Linked DNA regions of Homo sapiens: all the other regions are linked to region 4. Evidence: promoter capture Hi-C in 16 types of primary human blood cells and fetal thymus (Javierre and others, 2016). All regions are on one chromosome and are shown on one strand. Each heading gives the region's core, a stretch centred on a gene start or on the middle of the fragment in contact. The rest is flanking DNA. Distances are from core to core; before and after follow the strand shown. Region 1 holds the start of BRK1 (BRICK1 subunit of SCAR/WAVE actin nucleating complex). Region 2 has its middle 27 kb from the start of LINC00606. Region 3 overlaps EMC3 (ER membrane protein complex subunit 3). Region 4 holds the start of RAD18 (RAD18 E3 ubiquitin protein ligase). Region 5 overlaps ATP2B2 (ATPase plasma membrane Ca2+ transporting 2).

Region 1 (2,748 bases), core at 166-2,665, 1.2 Mb before region 4:
TCGTTGTTTTGTAGAGATAGGATCTGGTCATGTTGCTCAGGCTGGTCTTGAACTCCTGGGCTCAAGCAATCCTCCCACCTTGGCCTCCCAAAGTGCTGGGATTACAGACATAAGCCATTGAACTCAGCCACGATTATAGTCCTAAACACCCTGTATGAAAATACTTTAATACAAAAATGATGCTCTTCTTTGTCCTGAAGTTGTCATTATTTCATCTTCAAGATTAGAACTTCTTTGAATGTAGGAAGTGGTTCTTATTCTGTGTCTCCCACTATGCCTTAAGAGAGGGCCTCATATGGAGCTCTAGCATCTCTCGCTGATGCTTTCTGACAATCTCTTGCTCTGTCACCTTTGTACTCCTAAGGCCATCAGTCCTTTAGTTAGAGAATCATTCATTTAAAAATCTTTCCAAAGTACACTAGTCCCTATATCCTGTAATTACACAAGAAAGTCTAACCAGTGCCAAGTTCTGTTAAACACTTGGAGAAGAAGGGGTAGGAATCTCGATTGCTTTGCTTGCTGTTCATAAGGAAGAATTTAAGGCTGTCACAAGCAGGCCATGCCTAGGAAAGATTCTGGTAAAGATATCTTTCTGCTGAAGGCACCCGACCTGTGTTAGCTCTGAGGAATGGGCTAGAAGCAGACAGAACACCTACCATAAGCTATATATACTAGCAATACAGAGAGGACTTCCAAGGTCCTACAAGATCCTGGCATCCCTCTGACCTCATCTCCCACCACTCTCACCGCAGCAGACACAGGAAACAGGAAGGAATGGACAAGACGGGAGTGGTTGACAACGGGTCCAACTAAAAGGCACGACGCTAGAGGGTATCGACCAGATCCTGAAGATGGGGAACGGTCAACAGTCTTGAAACAGAGGAGTGACACGGTCCCGGATGCTCACTTTGAGTGCAAAGTGGGGACCGGAATGGATGCAGAGTACAAAGGAGGCAGGGAGACCACTTAGGAGAAGAACCACGGAGCGAGGATGGGGCTGCCTGACGCGTCTAGGAGAAGGACTTGTAGAATGGATCCAGAGGGATGGCAGGAAGCCATGAGCTCAGCGTAGGGCAGGATAACCCTACAGAGACTGTCTACGGGAGCCTGAGGGTCAGGGCGGGAGGGAGAAGGTGGGACCTGAAGGAGGAAGTGAAAACCCGCAACAGCCGAAGGCTGCGGGAGTCCTCTCAAAGCATCTCCCCGGCGCCCCAGCCCAACCACCTCAGCGGCCTCCCTCCTCCCCGCCTCCCCTTGCTGGCCCGCTGACCGAACGAGTTGAGAAAGTCTGCGATTTTCTTGATGCTGCTGGTGATTATCTCAATGTACTCCCGGTTAGCCCAGTCCTGGTGAATCTCCCGCTGCACCGGATCCTCCTGTCCCGCCATGGCCGCCGCCTGAGGAAGAGCGACTGCGCAGGCGCCCCGACCCTACAGGCCTCTAGTGCGCCTGCGCTGCCAGGCCACACCCATCCTCTTGAGCACCCACGAATTCTCGGGCACTATGATAGGCCTGTGCAACGTCACGTCCTCGCCGGCGTTTGCTCTCTACTCCCACGCTATAGAACACAGAAGCCTGGACGCCGGCGGCGAGGTTGTAGTGCACGCGCGTTATGGTCGTTACACGGCGCGTGGGGTCTTGCCGTCTCCCTCAACTGCTCCAGGCTCAGGTTGCGCACTCAGTGTCCGCAGTGAGATGGGCACAGTCGATTAAATCACATTAAATACAAGTCTTTTTTTTTTTTAGACGGAGTCTAAAAAATAATATGGTCATAAATAGCTGGGCACACTGCAAACTGGAACAGTCCCTTTCAGAAGGAAATTTGTGTTTTTGTGTTGTTTTTTGAGACAAGGTTTTTTCTTGTTTTTTGTTTTTTTGAGACGGAGTCTTGCTCTGTCGCCCAGGCTGGAGTGCAGTGGTGTGATCTCGGCTCACTGCAACCTCCGCCTCCCAGGTTCAAGCTATTCTCCTGCCTCAACCTCCCGAGTAGCTGGAATTACAGGCGCACACCACCACGCCCGGCTAATTTTTTTGTATTTTTAGTTGAGATGGTGTTTCACCATGTTGGCCAGACTGGTCTCGAACTCCTGACTTCAGGCAATCCGCCCGCCTCGGCCTCCCAAAGTGCTGGGATTACAGGTGTGAGCCACCTCGCCCAGCCTGAGACAAGGTCTTACTGTCGCCCAGGCTGGAATGCAATGGCATGATCATGGCTCACTGCAGCCTCGAACTCCTGGGCTTGAACTCCTGGGCTCAAGCTATCCTCCAGCCTCAGCCTCTGGTGTAGTTGGGACTACAGGCTCACGTCACCACGCCTGGCTAATTTGTGTATTTTTTGTAGACACGGGGTTTCACCATGTTGGCCAGGCTGGTCTCGAACTGACAGGTGATCTACCCACCTCGGCCTCCCAAAGTGCTGGGATTATACGCATGAGCCACCATGCCCGGCCTATTATGCAGTCATTTAAATGCTAATTATGAACACAAGCAACATGAAAACACATACAATAAATTGAGGGGAAAAACAAAATACCCTCCCTCCCTCCCTTCCTTCCTTCCTTTTCTTACTTTTTTTTTTTAAGACAGAGTTTCTCTGTTAATGCCCAGACTGGAGTGCAATGGCACGATCTTGGCTCACTGTGACCTCTGCCTCCCGGGTTCAAGTGATTCTCCTGCCTCAGCCTCCCAAGTAGCTGGGATTACAGGTGCCCGCTACCACACCTGGCTATTTTTTGTATTTTTTAGTAG
Region 2 (2,700 bases), core at 100-2,599, 1.8 Mb before region 4:
CTGTCCTCTGTCTGTTGTGCGAGGAGTCCCCAGGAGTTTCACCGGCCTGAGAGGGAAAAGGGGGCCTTCGACCCTCTTCAGAAAGTCCTTTCCTTTCCACGAGTAACACCTTCATCAGGTAACAACGGCGAGAAAACTGCCCAAAAGCACCTTCGGGTTTGTATAATAATTTCAAATTTACAGAAAGCTGCCGCAGTAGTAAAAAGAGCTATTTCCCCCAAGCCATTTTAGCGGGGAAAAAAGTAAGTTACTAACGTGATACTCCACCACCCCCCAAATATTTTGTGGATATTTCTTACAAATGAGGACATTCTCTACCTAACCACAAGCACCAAAATCAGGAAATTTACATCAATGCATTGTAACCACCTAATCCTCAGACTCCAGGCAAGTTTAACCAGCTATCCCGATAATGCCTTTCAGAGCAAGGGATTCGGTCCCGAATCCTGCACGGCATTTAGCTGTCATTTCCCCCTAGCCTCCCTCATTCTGGAACAGCTCCTCAGTCTTCCATAGACTTGCACAACCTTGATGCTTTTGAAGATTTTAGGCTACGTATGTTGCAGGAGGTCCCACAGCTCCAGTTTGGCTGCTGTTTCTTTCTTATTGGGTTCAGGTTGCCTGTTTTCAGTAGGAACATCACAGAAATGATGCTGTGTTCTCATTGCGTCCTAGTGGGTAGCACACAATTTCTCTTTGCCGCATTACTGGTGCAGGAACGTCAATCGCCTTATTAAGGTGGTGTCCGCCATTTTTTCCTTAGTTCTTCTTTTCCCCTTTGTCAGCAATAAGTATTTTCTTGGGGAGGTACCTCGGAATGATGTCATTCATCATCAAAGTTTAGTTGTAGCATTCTTTGGGGATTTTTGCCTGGATGAAGTTGTTACTAACACAGTTGCCAAATGGTGATTTCCTGATTCCATCATTCCTCCTTCTCCTCCTCCTCCTTCTTTTGTTTAGAGTCAGGGTCTCGCTGTGTTGCCCCAGGCTGGAGTGCAGTGGCACAATCATAGCTTACTGCAGCCTCTAACTCCTAGGCAAGTAATCCTCTTGCCTCAGCCTTCCGAAGTAGCTAGGACTACAGGCACATACCACCACAACTGGCTAACTTTTTAAATTTTATTTTTTTGTAGAGAGAGGGTTTCACTTTGTTGCCCAGACTGGTCTTGAACTCCTGTCCTCAAGCAGTCTTCCCACCTCAGCCTCCCAAAGTGCTGGGATAACAGGCATGAGCCACCGTGCCCAGCCTCTGTCATACCTTCTAAATGTATCAGTTGGCAATCTAACTGTAAGGAAAAGATCTCTCCTCTCCCCACTCATCCATCCATCCATTCATTCATTCATTCGTATATGTACTTGGTAAGGATTCGTGGATTCTTGTTTTATTTAATGGGTTATAATCTATTACTGTGACTATTTCTTTTGACATTCAAATTTCCCTGGCTTTGGCCAGTGGGAGCCCCTTCAAGCTGGCCCCTCTGTCACTTTAACATGCCAACGTCCTTCCTTGAACATTTCCTTATTTTCTGGTACGAGATATTCTAGGCTTATTTAGTATTCTTGCACCTGCTTTCGGTGTTTAAAGGAATCATGGGTTTATTATCCTGCAAAGGAGTATTTTGGAAACTCTTTTCCTCTAACCCCCCCAGCCCTAGGAAACCACACTACACAGGAGGTAAGAGATTGGACTTTGTAGTAAGACTGATCTGGGTTCAAATCCCACGTCTTATCAGCAGTGTTTCCTTGGACAAGTCTGAAAGCCTCTCCTCACCTGTAAACCAGGCATTTGTAAAATGCTGCTGCTCCTTTAATATTCCCCCAGCACCACCATGTAGCCAATGGTCTGGGAAATTGCTGGAGGGGATTCCTTGATCTGCCTCAGAGGGTAGGGAAATGAGTGAGTGCCTCTAACTTGATTGAGCTCACCTGTGGTACAACATTACCTGTCTGCATTCCCACCTCATGCCTTCCTACAGGACTCACATTTATTCCCTGTCTTCCAGCTTGTGGAATGGCAGACGTTCATAAGAATGAGATAAATTTGGGTTGGTTCCAAGTCCTTGCTATTGTGAATAGTGCTGCAGTAGTCTGGATTAAGAAAATGTGGCACATATACACCATGGAATACTATGCAGCCATAAAAAAGGATGAGTTCATGTCCTTTGTAGGGACATGGATGAAGCTGGAAACCATCATTCTCAGCAAACTGTCACAAGGACAAAAAAACAAACACCACATGTTCTCACTCATAGGTGGGAATTGAACAATGAGAACACTTGGACACAGGAAGGGGAACATCACACACCGGGGCCTGTTGTGAGGTGGTGGGACGGGGGAGGGATAGCGTTAGGAGATATACCTAATGTAAATGACGAGTTAATGGGTGCAGCACACCAACATGGCACATGTATACATATGTAACAAACCTGCACATTGTGCACATGTACCCTAGAACGTAAAGTTTAAAAAAAAATGAGATAAATTTGGAGTTTTATGAGAGGCACCCCTCACATCTTAGTGCTGCACTGCAATGTGCTGCCCCTCAAGCTCAGCTGAGATAAAATATCTGGCCTGCAGTAAGGCTCAACAATTGATAACCCCTGCTATGCCTCTGCTCTTCAAATGGTCGAGTGAGTTGGGAAATGCTCCATTCCAGAGCATTATTGGAGATTTATCATAATGCAAGTTAGGATAATACAA
Region 3 (2,731 bases), core at 129-2,628, 1.0 Mb before region 4:
ATCATCCTAAAGAATCCACAAGAAAACTAACAGAGCTAATAAATAAGTTCAACATCAATTGTATTTCTATACACTGGTAATGAAGAATTGGAAATGAAAGGAAAACAATTTTATTTATAATAGTATCAAAACGAATAAAATATTTAGGAACAAATCTAACAAAAGAAATGGCCGTGGCCGGGCATGGTGGTTAACGCCTGTAATCCTAGCACTTTGGGAGGCTGAGGTGGGCAGATCACAACGTCAAGAGATCAAGACCATCCTGGCCAACGTGGCGAAACGCCATCTCTACTAAAAATACAAAAATTAGCTGTGCATGGTGGTGCCTGCCTGTAGTCCCAGCTACTCGGGAGGCTGAGGCAGGAGAATCACTTGAACCCGGGAGGCAGAGGTTGCAGTGAGTCAAGATCACGCCACTAGACTCCAGCCTGGTGACAGAGCGAGACTTCGTCTCAAAAAAAAAGAAATGGCCTTTTGTTAGATTTAAACCGACATACTGAAAAATTACAAAACATTGCTGAAAGAAATTAAAGACTTAAATAAATGGAAAGACATCCATGTTCATAGATTGGAAGACTTAATATTGTTAAGATGGCAATACTCCAAATTTATCCACAGATTGAACACAATCCCTATAAAAATCTTACTTGCCATTCTTGCAGAAATTGACAAGCTGCTTGTGAAGTTCATGTGGAAATTCAAGGGAATCACAATAGGCAAAAATGTTGGCAAAATTGAATAACTTACACGCCGTGGTTTTAAAGCCTATTACAAAGCTGTAGTAATCAAAACTGCACAGTAATAAAAACTGGCATAAGGAGAGATATAGGTCAATGGAATAAAATGGAGAGTTCAGAAATAAACACATCTATTTATCATCAATTGATTTTCAAAGAGGGTACCAAGACTATTCAGTGGGGAAAGAATAGTCTCCATTCAACGAATGGTGCTGGGAAAAGGATATCTACATGCAAAAGAATGAGGCTGGGCACCTATTTCACACCATGCACAAAAGTTAAGTCCAAATGGTTCAACAGGCATGTTAGTGCAGAAGAAAAAAAAAAATTAGGTTCAAATTAGCCAAATGTGGTGGTGCATGCCTATAGATGGGAGGACCACTTGAGCTGAGGAGTTTGAGGCTGCAATGAGCTGTGATTGTGCCACTGCACACCAGCTTGGGTGACAGAGCGAGACCCTGTCTTGAAAAAAGAAATCAAATGGGTCAAAGTCCCAAATCTTTAATATTGCATGATATTACTCATATAAAATATTTGGAATAGGAAAATTCACAGAGACAAGAAAGTAGGTTAGAGTTTACTGAGGATGGGATGGGGGGCAGTGGGGAGTAATTGCTTACTGTGCACATTTTCTGTTTAAGGGGACATAAAACTTTGGAAATGATAGTAGACATGGGTACACATTGTGAATGTCATTAATGCCACTGAATTTTACATCTGAAATGGTTAAAAGTGGTGTATGTTATGTTACATATATTTTACCACAATAAAAAAATAAAAATTTGGCTGGGCGCAGTGGCTTACACCTTAATCCCAGCACTTTGGGAGGCTGAGACAGGCAGATCATTTGAGGTCAGGAGCTTGAGACCAGCCTGGCCAACATGGTGAAATGCCATCTCCACTAAAAATACAAAAATTAGCTGGGCATAGTGGTGCCTGCCTGTAATCCCAGCTACTCAGGAGGCTGAGGCATGAGAATTGCTTGAACCTGGGAGGCAGAGGTTGCAGTGAGCCGAGATCCACCATTGCAGATGCAGAGGTTGCAGTGAGCCAAGATGGCGCCACTGCACTCCACCCTGGGTGACAGAGTGAGATCACTCTGTCTCAAAAAAATAAACAACTAAAAAACAGTGAGAGGGCTGGGCATGGTGGCTCACGCCTGTAATCCCAGCACTTTGGGAGGCTGAGGTGGGTGGATCACAAGGTCAGAAGTTCAAGATCAGCTTGGTCAACATGGTGAAACCCCATCTCTACTAAAAATACAAAAATTAGCCGGGCGTGGTGGCGGGCGCCTGTAGTCCCAGCTGCTCAGGAGGCTGAGGCAGGAGAATTGCCTAAACCTGGGAGGCGGAGGTTGCAGTGAGCGGAGATTGCGCCACTGCACTCCAGCCTGGGTGCCAGAGCGAGACTCCATCTCAAAAAAAAAAAAAAACAGATACCACTTCATGCCCACTCAGATGGTTATAATTAATAAAAAAAAAGATCAACAATAACAAGTGTCGGTAAGGATGTGGAGAAATTGGAACCCTATTGTTGATGATGGTACAGCCACTTTGGAAAACAGTTTTTCTGCCTTTCCTCAAACAGTTAAAACATAGTTACTATATGATCCAGTAATTTCACTCTTAAGTAAATACTCAAGAGAACTGAAAATGTATGTCCACACAGAAACTTATGTGAGAATGTGTTCAGAGCATGATTCATAATAATCAAAAAGTAGACATAACCCAAATGTCCATCATCTAATGAATGAATAAACAATGGAATATTTTGGAATATAATGTACATTGTATGTACAGTAGAATATATACAATGGAGTGTTATTCAGCTATAAATAAGAGTGGAATACTGAATCATGTTAAACAGGGAAGAACCTTGAAAACATGCTAAGTGAAAGAAAATAACAAAAGGCCACATATGCCCAGAATAAGTGAAAAAAAGATACGGAAGATAACGTAGTAGTTGCCAGAGGTTGTGGGAGGTGAATAATGGGA
Region 4 (2,700 bases), core at 172-2,671:
GAATGCAAAAAGTACATTCCTGTCCCTGTCTTTTCTCTCTCTCCCTTTCTCCTTACCCATTCTTTCTCTTTTTTCTCATCTCCTCTCTCTTCCTCTCTCACCTTCCCAGCCATTTGTCACCTTAAACCTAATTACCTTGTCCAACTAGTAGTGTGAAAAAAACAATTACTGGTTCACTCAGGCCACGGACCTGGTCTTAAATGCTTTTCCTTTGTCTCTCCAAGACCCCACTTCCTCCACATCCAGAACTATCCGACATTTTCCAGCTCAGCCTGGCATTCATTTGCGTTCATTTGCATGCCGTTCTATGATTGGCTGATACAAAGTGGGGGGCGGGGGTGGACACCGTAAACCTCCATTCCTCATGCATTTAATATAACATGTATGAAAAAAAGTATCTATATTTATATCTCGTTTAAGAAAAAAATTGTTCAATGATACTTGTTAAAGCACAATAAGGAAGACTTAATCAGGACAATTCAAGTAGGTATAGAGACCACTGGAACTGTGTCTTGCAATTGGTGAAAACTGGGCTCAACTCTGAATACAACATGGGCAAATGGAAATTTATAGCCAGGAAGCAGGGTGGGGAGCAGTGCATGAAAAATTACTAAGAGGAAACATCAGAGGTAACAGTAGATTCTTGCTGAAGAGGCCAGGGTGATCAGACATCAACTGGGGGATGGTGGAGGATGAGGAACACATCAGATATCAAGAGTGATCACATATCAAAGGTGGGGATTCTTGGTAACTTGATTTAGCAGGGTTTTTTGCTAAAACTGGATTTTTACAGGAAGTACACAGATTGGCCTAGGAGAAGGTTCAGGAGCCTGACTAAAGTTTGCTCAAGCAAAGAATCTTCGTCAATCTGCATAGGAAATATCTAGAAGGCTATATGCCAAAGTTAATGGTGCTTCTCTCCGAAGAAAAAGAAAAACCGTGCATTAAAATTTTAATATGAATAAAAGCAACAGCTCCCATTTAAAGCCCAGAGGTCCTGTTTGGAATCTGACTCGAAACTCTATCCACTTTTTCGGGCGTAGGCTTCTCTTGTGTAAACTGACAATGATAACATCTACCTCCCAGTGTTGTGATACGGGAGACATAAAGTAATGGATATAAAAACTTCTGTTCAGAGCAAGGACGGATAGTCACTGCGATTAGGGTGGGCGACCCGGAGGGGGGTCATGAGCCTGGACCTTGACAGATCTGGTGAGGTCTGGATTTGGTTTGATTCCTGGCTATCTTTTCTTAATATTCAACTGGCTCTACGCTTTTTAACCATTCACTTTCTTCAAGGTAAGTGCGGCAGAAGCCTGGCGCATGCGCAGTACAAGCCCTTAAGCGGCGCCCCGCCCACATACTACTACAACTTCCGGCAGGCTCCGCGCCCGCCTCTGGCGCGTCGCGGGCTGCTGACGTAATGCGGTAGCGCGGGGAATTTCGAGTGGTGTTGGAGCGCCGGAGGCTAGTGGGTGGCTGACCCCCAGCATCCTCGGGAGCGACCATGGACTCCCTGGCCGAGTCTCGGTGGCCTCCGGGCCTGGCAGTCATGAAGGTGAGTGCTTCGGGGAGTTTGGGAGCTCCCGGGTGTCTGCGGGGGGAGGTCCCTCCCTTTGAGGAGGATGTCCTCGCCTTAAGGAGAAAGGATGAGGCGCGAGCGTCGCACTGGGCCCGGGTATCCGGCTCTGCCCTGCCACTAGCCGACCGCGTGGCTCTGGGTCTCAGTTTACTCCTCTGATAAGTGACAAGGACAAGCCTGGTGAGCTGAGGTTGGCAGTCTTATGGCACCAGCTATTCTGCGATCCAATCCCAACAATAACATGGAGAAAAACAGTTATTCCAAACAATGACATCGACAGCTGTTCTTTACTGAAAGCTTACTTTGTGTCAAGCACTAAACAGTGACACCGGACATGATTTTGGGTGGACACTTTATCAGATAACATGTATGTAATCACGTAGCCAAGCAGGTAGTCTCCTTTACAGGCTCTTTCATTTCTTCTGATTATTCTCAATAAACGTAGTGCTCGTTTGTTCTGACATACTGCCCCAACTCCTCTCTAACACACCTTCACTCTTCTCTAACAATTGCTCATGTCTCTTAAACAGAGATCAGGACTCAGGCTCAGCGCTGATCTTGCATTGCGTCTGATTATTTCACTTAAATAACATTTATTTTTGTGGCCACTTTCTGTTTTGGCAAGGCATACCAGTTTCCATTTACAGTAGTGGTGGGCCCTGGATTTGCTCAAGAGCAGATGCACTTTGCTGTGCTGGATAAAGATCAGTTGCTTGGTGTTTCTTCTTGCTCTGTGATTATTTCCGTTTCTCACAGTGGCTAAGATAGCCTTCTTCTCCCTCAGTTTTGTAGACTTGGGGATTATAATACCTGTCCCACTGACTCATAAATTTGACTTTAGAATTAAGTGAAGGCTAAAGTAAGTAGAAGGCCTTGTTCTTCCTGCTGTCATCAGTGACGTCTAGAGTGCTTGGGGACTTGAGATATCTGCATGATGAGAAGCTGACATTGTGAAATGATCCAGGAAAGCTGTAGTTTTGGAGTTGTGGGCTTGGCACCAGGATGCAGTGGAGAAGAGCACAGATTTGAGTTCCAGTGGTCCTGGGTGAAATCTCCTGTCTGCCTCTTGACTGTATGACCTTCGGTTAGTAACTTAACCTCTCTGAGCCTGAATTTCT
Region 5 (2,761 bases), core at 241-2,740, 1.4 Mb before region 4:
TTCAAAGCACAAATAAAGAAATAAACAAAATCCCCCAGGAAATAAGAGACCCCAAAGCAAGCTCCAATAACTGGCCGGCCAGGGCTTTGAGTCTATACTCGAGTGTTTACCTCCCAAATGCATGAAGGAAAGAAACGCTGGGTACAAACGACCTCCGTTCACATTGTCCAGGCTTCCAAGTGTAGCCGTGTGTCTGTCTGTGTGTGCCATGTGGCTCCCGGCCTCCCCGTGGCATGCAGCCCGCCCCCGAATGTCATCTGTCCGCCAGCTCCCATGTGCTTTCTGGCTGCCTCTGCTCTGCACCTCAGAAAGCCCTGGGTTGGCTTTGGTTTGCTTTGCTGCCTTTGGTTTGATGTTCCCGTTCTGTTTGGCCCTCATGTGTCTCTCTCATCCCAACTCATCCAACCGTCTCTCCTTTCTGTGCCTTTTCTGTTTGTGACACGTAACATGTTCCATGTTGTATGGTTTCTTAACTGTGTGTGGTTTTCCTAAGATGAATTTTTTTAATAGCCTCTCCTCTTTCCTACTTGATTCCCACCTGGTCCTCCTCCCTGTCTGCATGGTTGAACCTCTGCTTTAAAGTGAACAAGGCTCAGTCTCTCACTAGGTGTGGGTGCCCGCAGGAGTCGACTGTGCTTCCTTTAACCACTGTTCCCCATCATCTCTTTGATGGTGCTTGGTGATTCCTCCTGTCCTAACACTAGTTTCTACCAAAACCAAAGAGATTTTTAAAAACCAGCTCAAGGATGCCTATAACCTGAGCCCCCTTTTTCACTCTCCCCCATCCTGTCAATGCTAATAACACCCAGCGACTATGGATTCCAGCCACCTGCTTTGCCCTAACCCTTCTCCCACCCGCCCCTCCTGTGAGCCCCCCGAGCCTGGCTGTGGTCCCTGGGCAGTGCTCCTGACCCCTGTGCTTCCCTTGCAGATCCGCGTCGTGAAGGCGTTCCGTAGCTCTCTCTATGAAGGTTTAGAAAAGCCTGAATCTCGAACCTCCATCCATAACTTCATGGCTCATCCTGAATTCCGGATCGAAGATTCCCAGCCCCACATCCCCCTCATTGATGACACCGACCTGGAAGAAGATGCCGCGCTCAAGCAGAACTCGAGCCCGCCGTCATCCCTCAACAAGAACAACAGCGCCATCGACAGTGGGATCAACCTGACGACCGACACAAGCAAATCAGCTACCTCTTCAAGTCCAGGGAGCCCCATCCACAGCCTGGAGACGTCGCTTTAGCTGAGGACCCTCTCGCCTGCCCGCCCGCCCTCATGGACCCCGCTGCCACCCGCTTTCCGGGCACCCATCCATCCAGGCACCCAACTCACCCAAGCAGCAACGAGCAACAATCGGAAACCAAATACTGGAGAGAAAACCAACGTTTCCACCCACAGACCCTTTCTCTGGCTGCGATGCTGTTTGAACTCTTTTTCACTTCAAGGCAAGGGGCGGGATCTCCACTGGGGGCTTACGGGAGTGAGCGGTTTTCCCAAAACAAGCCCTTCCTGGCTCCCACCCAGACATGGACCAGCCATGCACCCGCCCAGCCACCACGTCCCCCGCATGAATGTACTGTACACTTTCAATCCTCCCCTTGTTTGGTTTTTGGGGGTTGGGGAGGGGTTTTTGTTTGTTTGTTTGTTTTCTTAGGCGGGAACTGCAAACAGACTCTTTTCTGAGACTATTTATCCAATCCACTGGTCTGTGAGTTTTTGAAATGCTTGCACAGCATGGTCTCAGTTGTATAGATTAATTTAATAACTTTTTGAAATTGCAGAGCTTAACTCGCCTAGTAGATTTGCACCAATGGAACCGAAGAACTTCATAGACACTCACAAGGTTATATCCATTTCTTTGTATCTATATCAACGTATACTTTTCCGAGACTGTATACGTCCATATAGATAGGTAGATATATATATATATATATAAATATATATACATGGATATATAAAGTTTCTTTGCCGGCATGTTGCCTTGTTTCCGCTTAAATTGCTCTATTTTAACTTATTTATGTCCTAAAAGAAGAATGTAATTTGTTTACAAACCTGTAGATAACGTCTTTGGCTATTTGTATGGTTTAAGAACACTGGTGGCTGAGATGCTATAAAAACAGCTCGGCCCAACAGACACTTCCCCTGGGTTGCATCCTGGATGTTTTATGATAGCCATGCTCTGATTTTTGCCTGCTATTTCCGTTCAATAATGTCACTACCGTGAGAGGCTCAGGCAGAAGCCAAATGCTACCGAGTTGCCATCCTGAGGGGTTTAACAACATGCTCCGTAGACGAAGGGAGAGGAGGAGAGAAGGCTTCCTGGGTTTGCAACACTAACGGCCATCCGGCCCAAGGATGCCAGGATCTGCAAAGCACTGCTCGAAGACTTTTCTCTCAATGAAACTCGCTTGAGTTTACTAAGAGCATTTCAAAAATAGGTTCTCTTTGGCACTGTCTGTACAGAGATTGAGGTAGTGTTGAAATATTATAAATGGTATTGTGTTGATTTTTTTTTTTATTTAGTAACTTACAGGTTTGTTTCCTTATTAATGGCAGCATCTGAGCTGTTGGCATATTGGATGAGGATCAGTATGGCTTGCTGCTTTTATTTTTATTTTTGAAGAAGAATAGCCTTTTTCTCTGCACTATTTAGATCCGAATGAACCTTATGATGTGTATATTGAGATGTACTCAGTGTGATTTTAAACCAAATTGTCTTCCTGTAGTCACAATATATACTGTAGCCTTTTAACAGCAAGTC

Evidence for each region. The method cuts DNA at HindIII sites, captures the fragments that hold promoters and counts their contacts. A CHiCAGO score of 5 or more calls a contact.
Region 1: the fragment with the promoter of BRK1 here is called in contact with the fragment with the promoter of RAD18 in region 4 in 1 of 17 cell types (neutrophils); the score reaches 9.8 in neutrophils.
Region 2: a fragment that was not itself captured here is called in contact with the fragment with the promoter of RAD18 in region 4 in 1 of 17 cell types (total B cells); the score reaches 8.2 in total B cells.
Region 3: a contact is called between a fragment that was not itself captured here and the fragment with the promoter of RAD18 in region 4, in 1 of 17 cell types (neutrophils). The highest score is 5.2, in neutrophils.
Region 5: a fragment that was not itself captured here is called in contact with the fragment with the promoter of RAD18 in region 4 in 4 of 17 cell types (total B cells, total CD8 T cells, neutrophils and 1 more); the score reaches 7.7 in total B cells.

Annotation. Positions count from the first base shown.
Region 1 is chr3:10,114,342-10,117,089 of GRCh38, reverse strand. It overlaps BRK1 (BRICK1 subunit of SCAR/WAVE actin nucleating complex), which reads right to left and starts at 1,415. Exons shown (of 3, transcript NM_018462.5): 1 at 1,271-1,415. The coding sequence starts at 1,388. RefSeq lists enhancers at 818-867, 1,318-1,607. The HindIII fragment of the contact is 6,229 bases long and covers 1-2,748 here.
Region 2 is chr3:10,736,084-10,738,783 of GRCh38, reverse strand. No RefSeq gene overlaps it. Among named protein-coding and RNA genes, the nearest start is that of LINC00606, 27 kb to the left of the region's middle. The HindIII fragment of the contact is 7,718 bases long and covers 1-2,700 here.
Region 3 is chr3:9,965,664-9,968,394 of GRCh38, reverse strand. All of the region lies in intron 7 of EMC3 (ER membrane protein complex subunit 3), which reads left to right. Among named protein-coding and RNA genes, the nearest start is that of PRRT3, 15 kb to the right of the region's middle. The HindIII fragment of the contact is 3,103 bases long and covers 1-2,731 here.
Region 4 is chr3:8,962,193-8,964,892 of GRCh38, reverse strand. RAD18 (RAD18 E3 ubiquitin protein ligase) reads left to right here and starts at 1,421. Exons shown (of 13, transcript NM_020165.4): 1 at 1,421-1,558. The coding sequence starts at 1,508. RefSeq lists an enhancer at 1,404-1,573. The HindIII fragment of the contact is 5,728 bases long and covers 1-1,881 here.
Region 5 is chr3:10,327,296-10,330,056 of GRCh38, reverse strand. It overlaps ATP2B2 (ATPase plasma membrane Ca2+ transporting 2), which reads left to right. Exons shown (of 23, transcript NM_001001331.4): 23 at 932-2,761. The coding sequence ends at 1,243. Among named protein-coding and RNA genes, the nearest start is that of MIR378B, 1.6 kb to the left of the region's middle. RefSeq lists an enhancer at 1,225-1,773. The HindIII fragment of the contact is 4,701 bases long and covers 1-2,761 here.